6 separate regions of the Homo sapiens genome follow, and regions 1, 2, 3, 5 and 6 are each linked to region 4. The links are contacts of gene promoters, found by promoter capture Hi-C in blood cells and fetal thymus (Javierre and others, 2016). All regions are on one chromosome and are shown on one strand. The core of a region is centred on a gene start or on the middle of the fragment in contact, and the rest is flanking DNA. Distances in the headings are between cores, read along the strand shown. Region 1 overlaps SSH2 (slingshot protein phosphatase 2). Region 2 overlaps EFCAB5 (EF-hand calcium binding domain 5). Region 3 overlaps EFCAB5 (EF-hand calcium binding domain 5). Region 4 holds the start of CORO6 (coronin 6). Region 5 overlaps EFCAB5 (EF-hand calcium binding domain 5). Region 6 overlaps EFCAB5 (EF-hand calcium binding domain 5).

Region 1 (2,827 bases), core at 222-2,721, 300 kb before region 4:
TCACTTCTTCTGGGAAGCTTCCCTGACTCCACCCCCTCAGATCATGGTAGGTGCTCCTTCTACGCACAGCATAGCACCCTATACTTACCCATGGTGGCTCTTATCTTTCTACTGTACTTGTTTTATTACTTATCTCCCCCACTAACCTATAAGTCAGGGACTGGGTCATTTACATATTTTTGTATTATCAGAGCTCAAAAGTATTTGACGCATGGGGCTGGGCGCGGTGGCTCACTACTGTAATCCCAGCACTTTGGGAGGTTGAGGCAGGCAGATCACCTGAGGTCGGGAGTTTGAGACCAGCCTACTAAATATACAAAAATTAGCCAGATGCGGTGGTGGATGCCTGTAATCCCAGCTACTCCTACTGAGGCAGGAGAATCGCTTGAACCCGGGAGGCAGAGGTTGCAGTGAGCCAAGACCTCGCCATAGCACTCCAGCCTGGGCAATAAGAATGAAACTCCCTCTTAAAAAAAAAAAGTATTTGACACATGGATCAATGGATGATCAACAGATATAGTCATATTTAGCAATCTTCTATTTTGAGTTCTTCTACTGTTTTTAAGCATAGACAGATATCTTGAGAAGCCCAAAGGATATGATCACTTTTAAGACTTTTGATACATGTTGCCAAATTATCCAGCAGAAAGGTTGAATCAATCTTTGTTTACAAGCATTGTATAAAAATGTTTAAGTGTAGTCTCACAGCCTTAAGTAGCATCATCATCATAGGGATATTTATTGAACACTTACTGTATACTAGACACTGTGTTGAGTACCTTTTGTGCCTCATGTTGCTTAATTTTCACATCACTCCTGTGGCGTAAGCATTGTTATTCTCTTGATTTTACCAAGAAAATACAGACTCAGATAAGTGAAGTGAATTGTCCAGGATTATAGGCCTGGTGTCTGACCTCACAACCCCTTCTCTTAATCACTAGTATTTTATTGTTGTTTTAATTTACATTTTTAAAAATTAGAGGCTAAACATTTTTTCAAATATTTACTATTATATGTTTTATTATATATTCCTTGTTTTGTAAATCGTTCATGTTCTTTGCCCAGCTTTCTTCATGGCTATTTACTTTTTCATATTGATGTGTAAGTATTCTTTATATACTAAGAATATTAACCTTTTTCTGTTATGTTGCAAATTTTCCTCTGGTTTTTCATTTGCCATTTTGTTTTGTTTATTTCATTCATTTGTATATACAGACATTTACAAAATTTTAATGCCATCAATCCAGTCTTGTGTGTGGGTTTTTAAAATTATTTTTCTTAGTTCACTTTTCCGTCAATAAGGATAGAAATATTCTACTTATTGAAAAAATTTAGACCTATATGTTTTAAAGCTATTTATAGTATTATTTTTATATCTTTTAATTGTCTGAAATTAATTTTACTACATGATGTGAAGTAAGGATTATGTTTATTTTATTCCAAATAGCAGCTTTTCTTAGTTCATTATATGAAACAGTCACTCCTTTTTTCCAATGGTGTGGAACTCCTCCTTGGGAAGTACTAAATTCCCAAATACTTAATTCAGGTATAAGGTGTTCCATAGAAGTTCCATTGCAAGTCTCATAGGAATTTAGTTAGTTTAGCATATATTACTTAGTATTTATTAAATTGCATGCATAGAAAATAAACTTTAAACTAGCTTACATTTTGAATTTTCACTCAAGTACCTGGGAAGCCCAGAAAAAGAGAAGGCCTTTGGTCCTCAAAAAGTATCTTCAGGTTTCTCATCTTTCCTATCCGGCTTTAAGTGAGAGGGAGCAGTTTCTAGATTATGCTCACGCTGAAAAAGACACTGTGCAGCACTGCCTTCCTAGGTTTCACCATTAAATATCACTCCTGATAGCTGGGCGCGGTGGCTCATGCCTGTAATCCCAGCACTTTGGGAGGCTGAGGTGGGCAGATAAGGTCGGCAGTTCGAGACCAGCCTGACCAACATGGAGAAACCCTGTCTCTACTAACAATACAAAATTAGCTGAGTGTGGTGGCGCATGCCTGTAATCCCAGCTACTCGGGAGGCTGAGGCAGAATGGTTTGAACCTGGGAGGCGGAGGTTGTGGTGAGCTGAGATCACGCCATTGCACTCCAGCCTGGGCAACAAGAGGGAAACTCCGTCTCAGAAAATAAATAAATAAATAAATCACTCCTGGTTTCAGCAGCTTAAGATTTACTGTTTTTCCATTAAATGCCTGCTGTAGTGTTGTCTGCAGCAGTGCCTAGCCTTTTGAAGCTATTCACATGTCCATGTTTTATGTTTATTTGTTAATCCATTAAAAAAAAAAAACACCTAGCTGTAGTTTTTCCATTCAGTAAACCTAGTAGTAGGGAAAGTATTTCCAATTAAAAAAAAAAAAAGTGTAATTCTTGATGAGCCCCTTTGCCCAACCTGAAATATGCCAGAGGCTGGATGTACATGAGTAAAACCTTAAGAATCTTGTTAATCAGAAGTATTTAGTGAGTGCTATTTTGTGCAGGTGATCTCATACATTCCCTTCCTTTGTTTCTCAGCACTGAGTTCTCTTCAGATACCTTTATAAACTACCCTGCATTTTCTTGCCCATCTGAGCAGCAAAGCTACTGATCACAGTGCCCCTCATTTTCCTCTCAAGGTAAAGTCTGGTGAGGTACTCGTGGCTCTGAAATGTAATGAAAGGTCCCATGGTTCCCTAGACTTCCTGAAAGATAGAGGGAAGTACTTCATTTATTGAGTGGGAAAGGATGTGCTTAGAAACAGATGGGGAGAGATAATACTCTGTTCCAGCTTAGTTTTTATGGAACTGTTTGATTTAATTTTCTGAAAAACTTATTT
Region 2 (2,700 bases), core at 131-2,630, 320 kb before region 4:
CAGGAGTAAAAACAGTAAACAGTGTTGGCCGGGCACAGTGGCTCATACTTGTAATCCCAACACTTTGGTAGGCCAAGGCAGGCAGATCACCTGAGGTTGGGAGTTTGAGACCAGCCTGGCCAACATTGGGAAACCCCATCTCTATTAAAAATACAAACTTAGCCGGGTGTGATGGCACGTGCTTGTAATCCCAGCTACTCGGGAGGCTGAGGCTGGAGAATCGCTTGAACCCGGGAGGCTGAGGTTGCAGTGAGCCGAGATTGCACCATTGCACTCTGCCCTGGGCAACAAGCGCAAAACTTCGTCTCAAAAAAAAAAAAACAAAACAAAACAGAAAACAACAAAAAAACAACAACAAAACCCAAAAACAATAAACAGGGCCAAGGACAATAAGCAGCCCAAATCACTGGAGTTCTTCATTTTATTATTGTATTAGTGGGTTGCCTGCTAGATGTCAGTCAGCTTTCTTAGATAAATTTTCTCTTTAAGTGCAAGATGAATAATCATAAATTGCCTCAAAAGCATTAATAGAAGGTGAATGAAATACATTTTAAATTGTTTCCCAAACTGCATTTAAAATACCCTCTGGCCTATAATCTCAGTGACTCTGGAGGCTGAGACAGGAGGATCGCCTGAGTCCAGGAGATCGAGACCAGCCCAGGAAACATAGCAAGAAATTCTCTCTACAAAAATAAAAAATAAAAAACTAGCTAGGTGAGGTAATGTGTGCCCATAGTCCCAGCAACTCTGGAGGCTGAGATAGGAGGATCACTTGAACCCAGGACTTTGAATCTGCAGTGAACTATGACCGTGTCACTGAACTTCAGTCTAGGTACAGGGCAAGATCCATCTCTAAAAATAAAAATAAAATAAAATATCCCCTGAAATTATATCTTTAAAATGCAAAATCTTGAAGAACGCATCCCCAGTAAAATGTTAATGATAGTTTTAGATTCTTTTATTTATTTATTTTTTTGAGATGGAGTTTCGCTCTGTCACCCAGGCTGGAGTGCAATCCACGAGCTTGGCTCACTGCAACCCCCACCTCCCTGTTCACGCAATTCTCCTGCCTCAGCCTCCAGAGTAGCTGGGATTACAGGCACCCGCCACTATGCCCAGCTAATTTTTTGTATTTTTAGAAGAGATGGTGTTTCACCATGTTGGCCAGGCTGGTTTCGAACTCCTGACCTCTGATGATCCACCCGCCTCGGCCTCCCAAAGTGCTGGAATTACAGGCATGAGCCACCACGCCCAGCCAGTTTTAGATTCTATTGTATAAGAGAAAGGCTAGTTCTCTACCTTGGGATTTGATTTCATCCATTGCTTTCTCCACCACACTGTTGGTGTCCTCTTTTACAGGAACGTCTGGCACACTCTGTAAGGTCTTTGAAAAGAGGAAAAAAATCACCAATTTCAATGTGACTTGATTTTCAACAAAGTTGTATAAATTATTCCAATTAAAGGAAAGTTAATTGCTTTGTAAGAGTTAACCAAACATTCCTAGTTAATTTTTCTGGGATCTAATGCTGTATATTAGAAGCAAAGAGGTAATCACAGTGTATTTTCTGCATTTACAAGATAAAATGTGTTGGTTCAAAATGTCATCACATCTTCCTGTTACTAACAAAGTAATATGCTAGGAATATCATTTTAGATGTACATTAATTCTTGAATTATACAATAGTTTATAGAAACATGATTTGAGACCATAGCATAAGGAAATCAGACCTTTGGAAATGCTACTGTTTTACTACTAGAATCACTTTCTGTATTTGTGGCAAAAAGAAAAAGCATTTAATCTTAATTGAGGAAATTAAAGATTAATTTTATGAATAGCAACAAAATAGTTTTTGTATACATGCTAATGTACTTTAAAAATCTGACTATATATATATATATATATATATTTTGGAGATGCAGTTTCACTCTGTTGCCCAGGCTGGAGTGCAGTGGCATGATCTCGGCTCACTGCAACCTCCGCCTCCTGGGTTAAAGTGATTATCTTGCCTTGGCCTTTCAAGTTGCTAGGATTACACGCATGCACCACCAAGCCCAGATAATTTTTGTATTATTAGTAGAGATGGAGTTTCGCTATGTTGGCCAGTCCGGTCTTGAACTCCTGACCTCAAGTGATCCACCTCGGTCTCCCAGAGTGCTGGGATTACAAGTGTGAGCCATCGACAATCAATAGGATATTTTAAAAACTCATATTAGTCAACTCACTTGTGAATCTATAGGACTATTTTTAATTGCCTCCCCTTTTCTATGAAACGTTCTTCTTTATTGTAGCCTTGTATTTATTTAAACACAAAGTTACTTAAATGATTAACCTGGAAATTACATTTTCAGCATGATAGTAAAGTGACCCTAAAAGCTGGTGGTTACAGTTTTTAGGGTAACTTTAGAAAGCAGTCTTTATTTATCTGTAATTTATAACAGTTCTTCACAAATAATTTACCTGTCCATGGAAGTTTCCTGCAACTTACTCAAATGAATCAGCTTAATAATCAACATGAGTTTGTCCTTTTCCTTTTGCAATTTTAGTTATCTTTTTGAATACCCACATCTTTTCTTTTATCATAAGAAAATTGATTTATCTAGCTTATTCTCCAGCATTAATATCTGATTTATTCATGCCAACTCTACCTCATGAAGCTCTTTCACTTCAGTTAAGTTCCATTTCCTCTCTTTGTCTTCTTT
Region 3 (2,700 bases), core at 196-2,695, 430 kb before region 4:
ACAAAACAAAACAGACATTCTTGGTTGGTCCCATGGTAGGGGGTTATCAGAACTTATTAACATTAGTGTCACTAAAGTTGGTATACAACCTCCCACTGCTAACCTTGACTGGCTTTGAAGAAAAAAAATAACAGCAGGCATTCTCTGCATTAGTATTCCTTAAGAATCCTTTTTTTTTTTTTTCAAATTTATTCTACAAACCTTAAGAATCTTTGACCATTCTTTTCCACTCCTTCTCTAGTTGTTCAGGAATGTGATAAATACACAGACTGTATTTTAAAATTATTATTATTTTTATTTAGAGACAGAGTCTTGCTATGTCACCCAGGATGGAATAGAGTGGCATAATTACAGTTCACTGTAACTTCAAATTCCTGAGCCCAAGAGATTTTCCCTCCTCAGCCTCCCAAAGCACTGGAATTACAAGCATAAGCCACTGCAGCTGGCCCTAAGGGATATGTTTTGAGTGAAGGGGAATGAATGGCAGTGTTTAAATAATGAAAAATGGCTGTGTTTTAAAAATTCTTTTTTTATATTTAAGATTGACTATATTTGACATTAATTTTATTTATCTTTTAGAGTTTTCACTAGGTTAATTATATTAGTGAGATAGTAATTGAATTAATATCTAGATAGATATAATTGCAAAAATAAAATGAATATACACCTTTTGATTTAGTAGGAAGAACTGGAATTGAGAAGGTAAAGGGAATTGTCTAGAATTAGGTTGAAAAGACTCATAAGGCTGATGATTACTGAATAAGCTTAGTGAAAGTAATTTACATATTTCATATGAGAGAATAAATTGTTTATATAAGCTAATGTGTATGCACTTACCTGTCACCCAAGTAAGTAGTAAGTTCTTAGGAAATATGTACTACCTGGGTGCTCATGAGTAAAAATATATACTCAGGCCATAATCATACCCCAGGTGTGTGTACTTGTAAAGACACTCACACACAGGCAAATAATGCACATACACATCTTTGCATATATCCATATCTGCTTCTCAAAAAGCTTCAGAGAAAGAATAAAGCTGTACAATAAACCATCTCCTGCTAGGAGCAATCATGTTATTATTAGGGGAATGAGTTCTCTGGAGTGTGATCTTAGAATATTTGATGATAAAATAGAATCTTTAATGGCTATGCTTGTTGAAAGAAAGTGATCAGTTTGGTTGTACATTTTTTAACACGAGCCACATCGGGAGCAACTGAGGTTGAGAGATTTACTTATAATAGTGACCTCACTTGTATCATTAATAAATAATATTACCCACCTGTTCTAAGGCATTCATTTTCTCTTGTTCTGTTTCAACATAGCCCTCCTTAAAAAAGGAGGTGAGAGTCTCGCTGACACTCAAGGGAGCGTCTTCACCAACAAATGTCTCCAGGAGTTGCACAAACTGGAGCAGATTGAATGAAACTCCATTGAAGGCAGTTCTGCCTTTTACCTCCTTGCAAGACTGAATATTTCTGATAATTGAGTGTAAATCTGTCAAGCAAGAAACATTACCAAGCAGTAAAGTGAACAATTTTTTCAGTTAGGGAAAATAAATGAGTGCCTATTGTAATGAATATCTGCCATTTTTGACTGTCAGGAATCCATGCTTCCTTCATGAGGACAGCATCCTCCTTTTTTCTTTGGAAAAACATCTCTCCATTGTCAGTTCAGATGAGTCAGGTCATACTGTGCCTCCCACTTTTGTGCCATGGATGGTCATGTGATATACATCTGGCTAACAATTCATATATGATAGCAATGTAACCTACTATAGGCCAATGAGAGTTAGCCTCAGAACTTTTGGAAGAACTATTAGGGACGAATCACTCTTTTTGTACTCTGATTGCTGAACTAGTAGAGTATAAGCTTAGAGATGCTTTCATGGCCATTTTTGTCACAACATGGAGAAAACTGTCTCAATTGAAAGTGACACAGAAAAACAGGGCTTAGAGGAAGACAGACAGTATCCTGCTGCTATTGTTGAGCCTTTGAATCTAGTTGTGCCTGAAAACAGCTGCACGCTGAACTTTCTAGTTAAACAAATTACTAAATACCACCACCACAACTCCTTCTTCCAAAAGCCTTGGCTAATATATTTACCTTTTAGCTCAATAGTACAGTATGAAGTATATTTCATAAAATGTCAGCAAAGTGACTTCCGTTTGATTTATTCATTGATTCAATCATTCATGCCCTTATACCTTCTATATGAGATTTGATGTGATTAAAAAAAATGATTACTCACAATTTTTACATATATTGGTAAAGCAAAATTGATATAAAGATGACTAAGAAGAAGAACATGAACTAGCAGGCTGCAAGAGGTTGACCAATGCCATGCATTTTCACCAGAAAATTTGAGGATAGAAAGTTTGTTATTTGAGGCTTAAATGAGAGAAAAATTTGCAGGTAGGAAGAAGATAATCTTGATCTAATTTAGTTCTACAACTTGTTGATGTGAAAGGCAAAACAATATAGTAGCATTTTAGTGAAATATGAGTGCTTTTGGAACAATCATTTTAAAGACATGCTTTGTCTGAAAGCCAGAAACTACTCTGCTCTGTTGAGTAGATCTTTCTTTGCAAGTCTTCAAAAACAAGATAGATTCTCACTTGTCTCATATGTTTAGATGTGGCCCTACCAGGTAAAGGAATAGCTGAAATGATTTCTATTGAGTTTTAGTATCTAATGTCTGAT
Region 4 (2,792 bases), core at 7-2,506:
GCCTGGAATCTTTAGGTAAAAGAGAGATGACTCACATACCCTCATACCCTGCCCCAGCACCCCTACGCCAGGAGTTATTTCTGGAGCACTCGTAACAGTTTTTTATTCTGTTCCCCTACAAGCCACTGACTCTTGATTTGATTCTGTCCCTACAAGCCACCTGGACTCTTCCTGAGAAACAAAGGAGCCTCGTGGGCCCTTCATGGTTTCTACCACCTTCCCTCCCTTTCCTCCCCAGTGCTGGTTCCTGCCCTTCAGAAGGCTGTGTTCCATTCACTCACTCCCAGGTGTGCCCTGGAGGGTGGGAAGTAATAACTGGCCCCAGATGCCCTTATGATCCAAGGGAAGAAATCCAGGCAATGTGCAGACACTGGGTAGACTGGAGCTACGGGACTGGCTGGTCTTCACTGGCTGTATTTTGATCAGGTTATCTTTAATCTCCTTGACCTCGGTCAACATTCAGTTCTGTGAATATTGGGGGAGACGGGGGAAGCTTACCTGGAACACAGTCGGGCGCCAATTCAAACAAGGCCCAGAAAACATTAGGAGTCTGGCCTCTGAGTTGGCTTCTCTGACCCCTAAAATGTGACTAGAGACCGGTGCTAGCCTCTTCCCCCTGCATCTGGGAGGGGAGGGAGTGTCAAGGTGGGTTCACTTTACACTCGGTCCTCCCCTTGTTCTTTCAGCTGCTTCCTGCCCTGCTCCATGGAATCTCATCTAATGGGGTGAAATGCCTAGCACACAGCCAGCATTTTAGGTTTCTCAAATGATCGCTATTGCCATTCATAACAATAACTAACATTCACAACCCTGTGTCGGGTGCCCTCTCACTTGCCCTACATCAGGATCAGCCTGGGTCCTCATTCTCTAGGGCCTCTTTCCCCCAGGGAGGCCTGGAAGTGCAGTCCCGCAGTCCCGGCCGATCGGGACAGCTAAATTGGGAGCGCGATTGAGGCTGGAATGCGGGTGGAGGCACCTGGTCTCCCTCGGCTGCCCGCTCTAGGGGCGCACGCCCCCTCGCCCGTTCCCTCTCCAAGCGTCCTGCTCTAGGTCTGCGAACCCGAGCCTCCCCAGCCTACCCGGGAGTCATGGAGGGAGGGAAGCAGCGTGCGCACCTAGCACACAGCTGCACATTTATTTTCGATGGTTCTCCGAGGCCGGCGGAAGCTGGGAGGGGAGTCGGGGTCGCTCGACTTTCCCGCCGCTGGAGGGGGCGGGGCAACTTGGGCTCTGGCCCCGCCCCTATGCTAGCCCCGCCCTCTTAGGTTGATGGCAGCGGCAGCTGGGGCTGCAGCGGCGCCGGGCTCTAGAGAGCCGCAGGATCGGCCAGAGTGCGGAGCTGGACACCCGGGTCCCAGATACTACAGACACCCGGAGAGGTGGCTCCTTCGCCCTGAAGCCTTCCTCGGCCCCCTACGCACTCGGGCCCCTTCCGCAGAGGATTCGCAGCGTGAGCGCCCCGCAGCCCGCTCAGGACCAGGTACCCAGCCCCCCACACCCGGCCGTCACCGCAGCCAGCGGAGCGGGCGGGGTCCCTGAGGGGCAGAGGTCTGCGCCTCCTCCCCCCGCGCCGCCAAATTCGGTTTCGGGCGGGGAGGACGTGGTGTCTATATTTGGCCGGACAGCAGCCAGCGCTCCCGGAGGGCGCAGACACCTCGTCTCGCAAGAACGCAGTGTCAGGGCAGCAGGCTGAAGAAGGGTGCAGGGAGGCCGGGCCTCAGGCTCGGGGCCGCAGACGCGCCTTGAAGGGCACACGGATGCTGGGGCTGGGGTGGGGCAGGAGCCACTGGCTGGGGCTTTGGGAGTGCTCAGTGTGTCCTCTAGGGAGACCCTAGCTGGAGAAAAGGCACCTCACCCTCCCCACCCCTGCAAATCTGGCTTGGCCGTGGCGGGGGCAGGGGTGGAGGATGGGGTTGAAGACCCCACCCCTAGAAGAGTTCACTAGGAAGAAGGCCCAACCAGGGCAGAGGACCCAGAGGAGAAACCGGACAAGCCTATGGTAGGCAAAAGCCAGAAGACCATGATCAGGGCTTCCTGGAGAAGCCAGTGCAGAAAGGAGTGGGAGAAGAGGGATCCACCTCACTCTGTGCTGCCACCCGTCCCCCCACAAGGCATGGGATGAAAACAGTAGCAGAAAGGACTCAGATTGGTGGACAGGAGGAACTTCCCCCTTGGCAAAATTTTAGGAAAAGGCAAAACCCCATCTGCCTGAACTATTCCAGAGATGCGAGTTCGGTATCCTGTGGTGGCTGCAGTCTTGGCCCCATACCTGGCTTTAAGCCAAGATCCAATGGTCAAGTCTTCTGCTTCTGGACAGGGTGCCTCTGGGAGCTACAACCACGTCCGTGAAGAGATGCTCATCAAGGCTGGCGGTGGTGGGGGCGGGGGGTGCAGGCAGTGTGGCATTGAGGCTCCTCCCAAAAACATTCCAACGTCCAGAAAGCTTTCAGTCTGTTAGGCTCCACAATCCCCTCAGCCTGGGTCTCTGTGGAGAATTCAGGCCCCAAATCCTAGCCACTTACATTAAACAGCATTTTACACAGCAAAATAACTTTCCCATACTTTGACCACCTTGAAGAAAGCTCCCTGCTTCTAGGACCAGACACTATATGGATTTATACCTGACTCCTGACCACATAACCCTTCTCATCAGCCACCCCTCCACTCCTCCTCCCTCCCGCAGCTCACAGGACTAAGGACCAAAGGCATTTCTGGGCACTGAGATCCTACCTCTCTGCCTGCAGCTATGAGCAGACGTGTGGTTCGGCAAAGCAAGTTCCGCCATGTGTTTG
Region 5 (2,700 bases), core at 126-2,625, 350 kb before region 4:
TCTGTCTTGCCAAATCCTACTGCTGGCATCTTGTAAGGATGAGTAAGATATTTTGAAGCTTTTTTTAAAAAAAATACAAAAAGTACTTTGAAGCAGATTTCAGAACTCTGCAAATAACACATTCCAATAGAAACACACACAATAGATTTTTGTCACATAGTTTACATAAATTCTTTGAACACTACACGACTTAATATGCAAGAAATTAATAAAATAAAGGCCTGTGTCCCTCGCTTCTTGAAATTTTACTTGGTTTGTGTATCCTTAAGGCTTGAATATTTATACTAACTTGGTCTTCTCTTGTATGTAGCTGTGGTAGAGAAAGTAATTCTTTGAAATACCTCTTTGTGTTTCTCTCTCTTTATGGATTAAATGTTCCATCATTAATGCATAAAGCTAATAAAGAGGAGTCACAGGAAAAATGCCCAAAAGATATCTCAAACTGCAACACAGACCCCATAGTGAATATGCAATTATCAGAGATCACTACCAAGGCAGAACTGGGTATGCATTATACAGGAAAAGATACAAGCTTCTGTTTGGGGTCTCTTAGATCTACTTTCCGGTTCATTTGAACTCATTCTAGGTTATTATGGTTCAAGACTAGTTGAGAAAAGAGAGGAAATTTGTAGTAAAGTAGAATAGTCTGAAATTCTAACATTAACAGTTTTCTTTTTTTACTGCTTAAAAGTTTTATATTTTAAAAAATATCATACAGTAAAATTTACCTTCTTTGGCACATAGTTTTATGAATTTTAACATATATGAGTATGTGTAACCACCATCATAATTAGGCTATTGAAAGTTTGTAATCCTATTTTAGGAGCAAATATTTTTCATTATCAATTCATAATAAGGTGGTAATGACCTTCAAATATGCAATCCCAAACACTGGAGAAATCAAGAGTCAGAGGGAAAAGATACTTTTTACAAAGCATACTAAAAGAAAAGAAAATATGAAGAAAAGTGAATGATACAAACTTAACCTACTTTACAGTTGTCCAAAATTGCACGTAAGAATTAAAGTCCACTTTAATTCTATATCTATGTCTTTCAAGAGCCCCAATGAAAAGTAGTAAATTACATTGCACATATAAAACCTACAAACAGCAGTGATACTGTATTTTTCAGATATAGTGGCTACCACTATAAAAATTGTTCCAAATAAGTAAGCAGTGTCTTCTCTATCTGTTGTTTTTAGAGACCTAACAGAGATGAATCCCTTTTGTCGTAGAAAGTAGGCAGACAAAAGCTTTTTGGATCAAGCTGAAGCAAATGAACACTTAAACATTACCACAAGAAGATAGAGTCTCATTAAAACAAATACATTTTCTTTTGACTTTTTTTCTTGGCTATAATTCAGGAAAATTTCATTCCTAAAGTGAATGGACTTTTCTAAGGCTTTGCAATGGATTGAAGGTAACACAAACAATGGTATAGTTCTGAGAATTTCAAAGCAGGACTGTTTTTACTAATATTGCTGGGTATATAAGCTTTAAGTCGATAGGGATTAGGAGCAGAACACACTGTTGTAAAACATCCTTAGGATTTCTGAATATTCTACAAATGCCTGACACTGTCATCTGTTGACATACAGATCTTGGATTTCTGCCAGAAAAAGATGAAGCCCCAATTCTAACAATCCAGGTAAACAAAGCAACTTTGATTATTTCATGAAATTCCTGCTCCAATAGAGCAACCTTTAACTAAAACTTTTACCAAGCCTCAAATGACCCTAAGAAGTCAAACTCCCAGTTCAAGAAATATCAGTGAAACAACCTAATTCTCCTGTGTCATGGAACCCAATGTCCTAGTGTGCTTATTACTATCTTATTATAGACATTAATAAATGTCTAGAGTTTTACATACCCATTGAGATTTACATATCTGTAACAAGAGGAAGTGTTTGTCAATATATTTGTTTACAGACAAAATCAGTTCACAGATTGTAAGTATTTTTAGTGGAAATAGATCTAAATACAGTCTAATTTATTGCACTGCAAGAACAGATGGTGAGCAGAAATGTTCCTTAAGGTATTTATTAAATTTAATGAAACTGCTTCCTGCATACTACTGGAAGTTTTCACTAGTACTAAACCTCTCTTAATTTGTTTTCTTTTTAATTTGGTCTTGAAACTTTAGTGTGCAATAATAACCTCTTATGGAACTTGTTTTAAATGCATTCCTAGAGGTTCTGATTCAGAAGATCTGAGGAAGGATCTAGGAATCTGCACTTTTAACCAAGCACCCCAGGTGATTCTGGTGTCACTGATAGACAACCATGATCTTAGAAAGCCTGTTTCAACTGAAAATAAAAATTTCATAACCACACATAAAACAAGAGTTCTGCACATATCTCTTACTTTATCCCAGAGGGATATCTGTGCCTAATTCCAAAAGAATTACTATTCTAAAGCTTCTAATTAGTTGTTTACCCTATAGGAAAGACACTAAAACAAGTCAAAAGAAATTATAAATTTGAGTGTAGGTGGGCCAGGTGTGGTGGCTCACGCCTGTAATTCCAGCACTTTGGGAGGCCGAGGTGGGTAGATCACCTGAGGTCAGGAGTTCGAGACCAGCCTGGCCAACATGGTGAAACCCCATCTCTACTTAAAATACAAAAAATTAGCTGGGCATGGTGGTACGCACCTGTAATCCCAGCTACTCGGGAGGCTGAGGCAGGAGAATCGCTGCCGGGAG
Region 6 (2,700 bases), core at 170-2,669, 380 kb before region 4:
ACAGTTTATCATCCTTCCAGCAACCTTTCTATGCATTTCTGTATGTATACAAATGTATATATATATACACATGTACCTTTTTTCTACTTATAAATATGATCATTTTGATGTGCAACTTGCTTTTTCATTTACCACTCATAGTAGCTTTTTTTCAAATAGGACCTGGGGCTCAGGGAAAGTTCGTAATGTGTATATAGATTGGGAGTCATCAGCTGCAGTCATGGACTTGAATAAGAAAACCCACAGAATGTGTATAGTGTGTATAGTGACAAGAAAGCCTAAAAGGAAACTCTGGAAAACAAAATTTAAGGTGCAAGCAAAAGAAGAGTCAAGAAACAAAAACACTAAAAGGTGACCAAAAATAGAAGAAAAAAATCAAGAGAATGATATCACAAAAACCAAGAAAAAAGAGTTTCATAAATTAGAGTGATCAGTAATGATGAATGTGACCGTTAGTTCAAATACAGATTTTTAAACCTTCATTTGATATGACAATTTATGTAATCCTTATTGACCTTACAAGAGAAAAATACATAAATTGTATGAAAGCTCATGATGAAAGAACTATACACTGGCTTCCTCTCCTACTTCTAATAGTAACTCTTCCTGCCTGTCATGGGTTGGCACAAGGGCATAGAAAAGATTTTTCAATCACTCTTGAATTTGGTAAGTGCTAATTATGAGATATCTGTTATTGTGGCCATAGGAAGGCTATATAAATTTTCATATAAACTTATGCATTAGATGCAGACATTTCCATCCCAGACCTTCCCCCAAGCTCCAGATGATTATGCAAACCAGACGTTTCTAGCAGTAACAGTTGCTATTAAGTATACCTGTCTGTCTGTCTCTGACTGGAGTTTGAGCAACTTAAGGGTAGGAAACATGTCTTGTCAGTCCTCTTTGCATTCTCTTACTCATTACAGTATCTGGAACTAAGTGAGGGCTCAATGAATATTGACCGAATGAATAGTACAGAAATAAATACTGTAGTATAGGAGGTGAGAGGAGAAACAATCACTGTCAGTTGGAATGCTCTGGAATTTCTGTAATTTTATCAGGATCCCAAATTGAGTTCTCTTAACTCACTCCTTCTGTACCCTCATTCAAAAATAAAGGAAGCTATTTCAATGATTTTTTGAAACAAGAGTAAAAGATGAGCTGACTGAAGAATTACGGTTTTTGGAAAATGTGAGAACAGGTAGAAGGACAAAAGGTTATCAGTAAGGCCCAAATCATGCTTGGAGATCAGTGATCAGGAAGACGGGAAGCATATTTTATTTTTAAAAGTGACAACAGACTTCAGACAATGTATTGTTGTCAATGTAACAAAAGTAGTCAAATAATCAATTGGAAAAAAATCTACTGGATATTAATTATGTAAATCTCAGGACCCAAACTCTAGTTCCTATGGGACAAGTGAGGTTTTTTTTTTTTTTCCACCTAATTTCATATAGGGAAATCTTTCTGAAAACAAAAGCACCAAAATCTGTGACTCTCCATAGGGGTGGTGCTGTCCTCCTTTCCTCCCAGGGAGCATGGTGGAAATTTTTGGGTGAATTTTTATTGCCACAGTGATGAGGAATAGGAGCAGAGGCAGAACACATGGAATTCTTGCACATAGACTTTCCCCCTTCTGCAGGACATTCAAGTAGATGAAAAACCTGATTATAATAATTTTGAACTTAGAACCCAACTCTATTTTACATATAAATGCAGAATATAATTTTGCTGTGGAATTTTCCAAGAATATAACTTATATGAAAATTTGAGGGAGAATTATACTTTGTTTAATTCTGGAACTTTACCAAGAGTTGTTCACCATTTCAGGACTTATGTAATAGGGAGTAATATAAATTGTATCTGAATTCTAATACAACACACCTGTGTCAGTCTGCATTTCTGGGAATTCTATATATATATATATATTCATTTTGCCCTATTCCAAAATGTCAAAAACAAATAAAATGGTCAACTGTATATAATTTTACTTCTCTTATATCTAAAGGTACATTATAAGTAGGTAGAAATGTCTGACTACTCTATTACGTCTTCTAGCGAAGTCGTAACAAAGCATTTATATATTGAAATACAGTGCATATAATTTTCTTTCTTTCTTTTTTTTTTTTTTTAGAAGGAGTCTCACTCTGTCACCCAGGCTGGAGTGCAGTGGCGTCACCTCGGCTCACTGCAACCTCCGCCTCCTGGGTTCAAGTGATTCTCCTGCCTCAGCCTCCCAAGTAACTGAGATTACGGACGCCCGCCACCATGCCCGGCTAATTTTTGTATTTTAGTAGAGACAGTCTTTCACTATGTTGGCCAGGCTGGTCTCAAACTCCTGACCTCAAATGATCCGCCCATCTCGGGCTCCCAAAGTGCTGGGATTACAGGCGTGAGCCACTGTGCCCGGCCTCTGAAGAAGTCTTAATCCTAGTATATATAGTAACAGAACTGGATGAGATTATCCAGGGAAATTTATGTAACATGAAAAGGGAACTCAAGAAACAACATTTGAGAAACAGAGAATGACCCCAGGAGGGTTATAGTGAAGGTGTAGGATATAAGACTGGGTAGAGTCAAGGAAATTCAAACTAAGGAATTTACGGAGGCAGTGTTCAACTCTGGTAAATATTAGCGTGAGCCACCATGCCTAGCCAGTGCATATAGTTTTCTTATGCCTTTACTTTTATTTCTCGTTTA

What was found. The method cuts DNA at HindIII sites, captures the fragments that hold promoters and counts their contacts. A CHiCAGO score of 5 or more calls a contact.
Region 1: a fragment that was not itself captured here is called in contact with the fragment with the promoter of CORO6 in region 4 in 1 of 17 cell types (fetal thymus); the score reaches 5.2 in fetal thymus.
Region 2: a fragment that was not itself captured here is called in contact with the fragment with the promoter of CORO6 in region 4 in 1 of 17 cell types (endothelial precursors); the score reaches 5.3 in endothelial precursors.
Region 3: a contact is called between a fragment that was not itself captured here and the fragment with the promoter of CORO6 in region 4, in 1 of 17 cell types (total B cells). The highest score is 6.0, in total B cells.
Region 5: a contact is called between a fragment that was not itself captured here and the fragment with the promoter of CORO6 in region 4, in 1 of 17 cell types (M1 macrophages). The highest score is 5.8, in M1 macrophages.
Region 6: a fragment that was not itself captured here is called in contact with the fragment with the promoter of CORO6 in region 4 in 5 of 17 cell types (M2 macrophages, M1 macrophages, naive B cells and 2 more); the score reaches 6.8 in M2 macrophages.

What each region holds. Positions count from the first base shown.
Region 1 is chr17:29,919,236-29,922,062 of GRCh38, reverse strand. All of the region lies in intron 1 of SSH2 (slingshot protein phosphatase 2), which reads left to right. Among named protein-coding and RNA genes, the nearest start is that of SSH2, 9.6 kb to the left of the region's middle. The HindIII fragment of the contact is 2,904 bases long and covers 20-2,827 here.
Region 2 is chr17:29,942,249-29,944,948 of GRCh38, reverse strand. EFCAB5 (EF-hand calcium binding domain 5) reads right to left here. Exons shown (of 23, transcript NM_198529.4): 2 at 2,647-2,700; 3 at 1,300-1,384. Among named protein-coding and RNA genes, the nearest start is that of EFCAB5, 2.0 kb to the right of the region's middle. The HindIII fragment of the contact is 2,825 bases long and covers 1-2,700 here.
Region 3 is chr17:30,056,470-30,059,169 of GRCh38, reverse strand. It overlaps EFCAB5 (EF-hand calcium binding domain 5), which reads right to left. Exons shown (of 23, transcript NM_198529.4): 13 at 1,280-1,494. It also overlaps the pseudogene RNY4P13. Among named protein-coding and RNA genes, the nearest start is that of NSRP1, 59 kb to the left of the region's middle. The HindIII fragment of the contact is 852 bases long and covers 1,020-1,871 here.
Region 4 is chr17:29,621,376-29,624,167 of GRCh38, reverse strand. It overlaps CORO6 (coronin 6), which reads left to right and starts at 1,256. Exons shown (of 11, transcript NM_032854.4): 1 at 1,256-1,480; 2 at 2,684-2,792. The coding sequence starts at 2,747. RefSeq lists an enhancer at 1-655 and a silencer at 1,443-1,592. The HindIII fragment of the contact is 1,950 bases long and covers 496-2,445 here.
Region 5 is chr17:29,975,348-29,978,047 of GRCh38, reverse strand. The region is part of intron 4 of EFCAB5 (EF-hand calcium binding domain 5); the gene reads right to left. Among named protein-coding and RNA genes, the nearest start is that of EFCAB5, 35 kb to the right of the region's middle. The HindIII fragment of the contact is 241 bases long and covers 1,255-1,495 here.
Region 6 is chr17:29,996,676-29,999,375 of GRCh38, reverse strand. The region is part of intron 6 of EFCAB5 (EF-hand calcium binding domain 5); the gene reads right to left. Among named protein-coding and RNA genes, the nearest start is that of EFCAB5, 56 kb to the right of the region's middle. The HindIII fragment of the contact is 3,204 bases long and covers 1-2,700 here.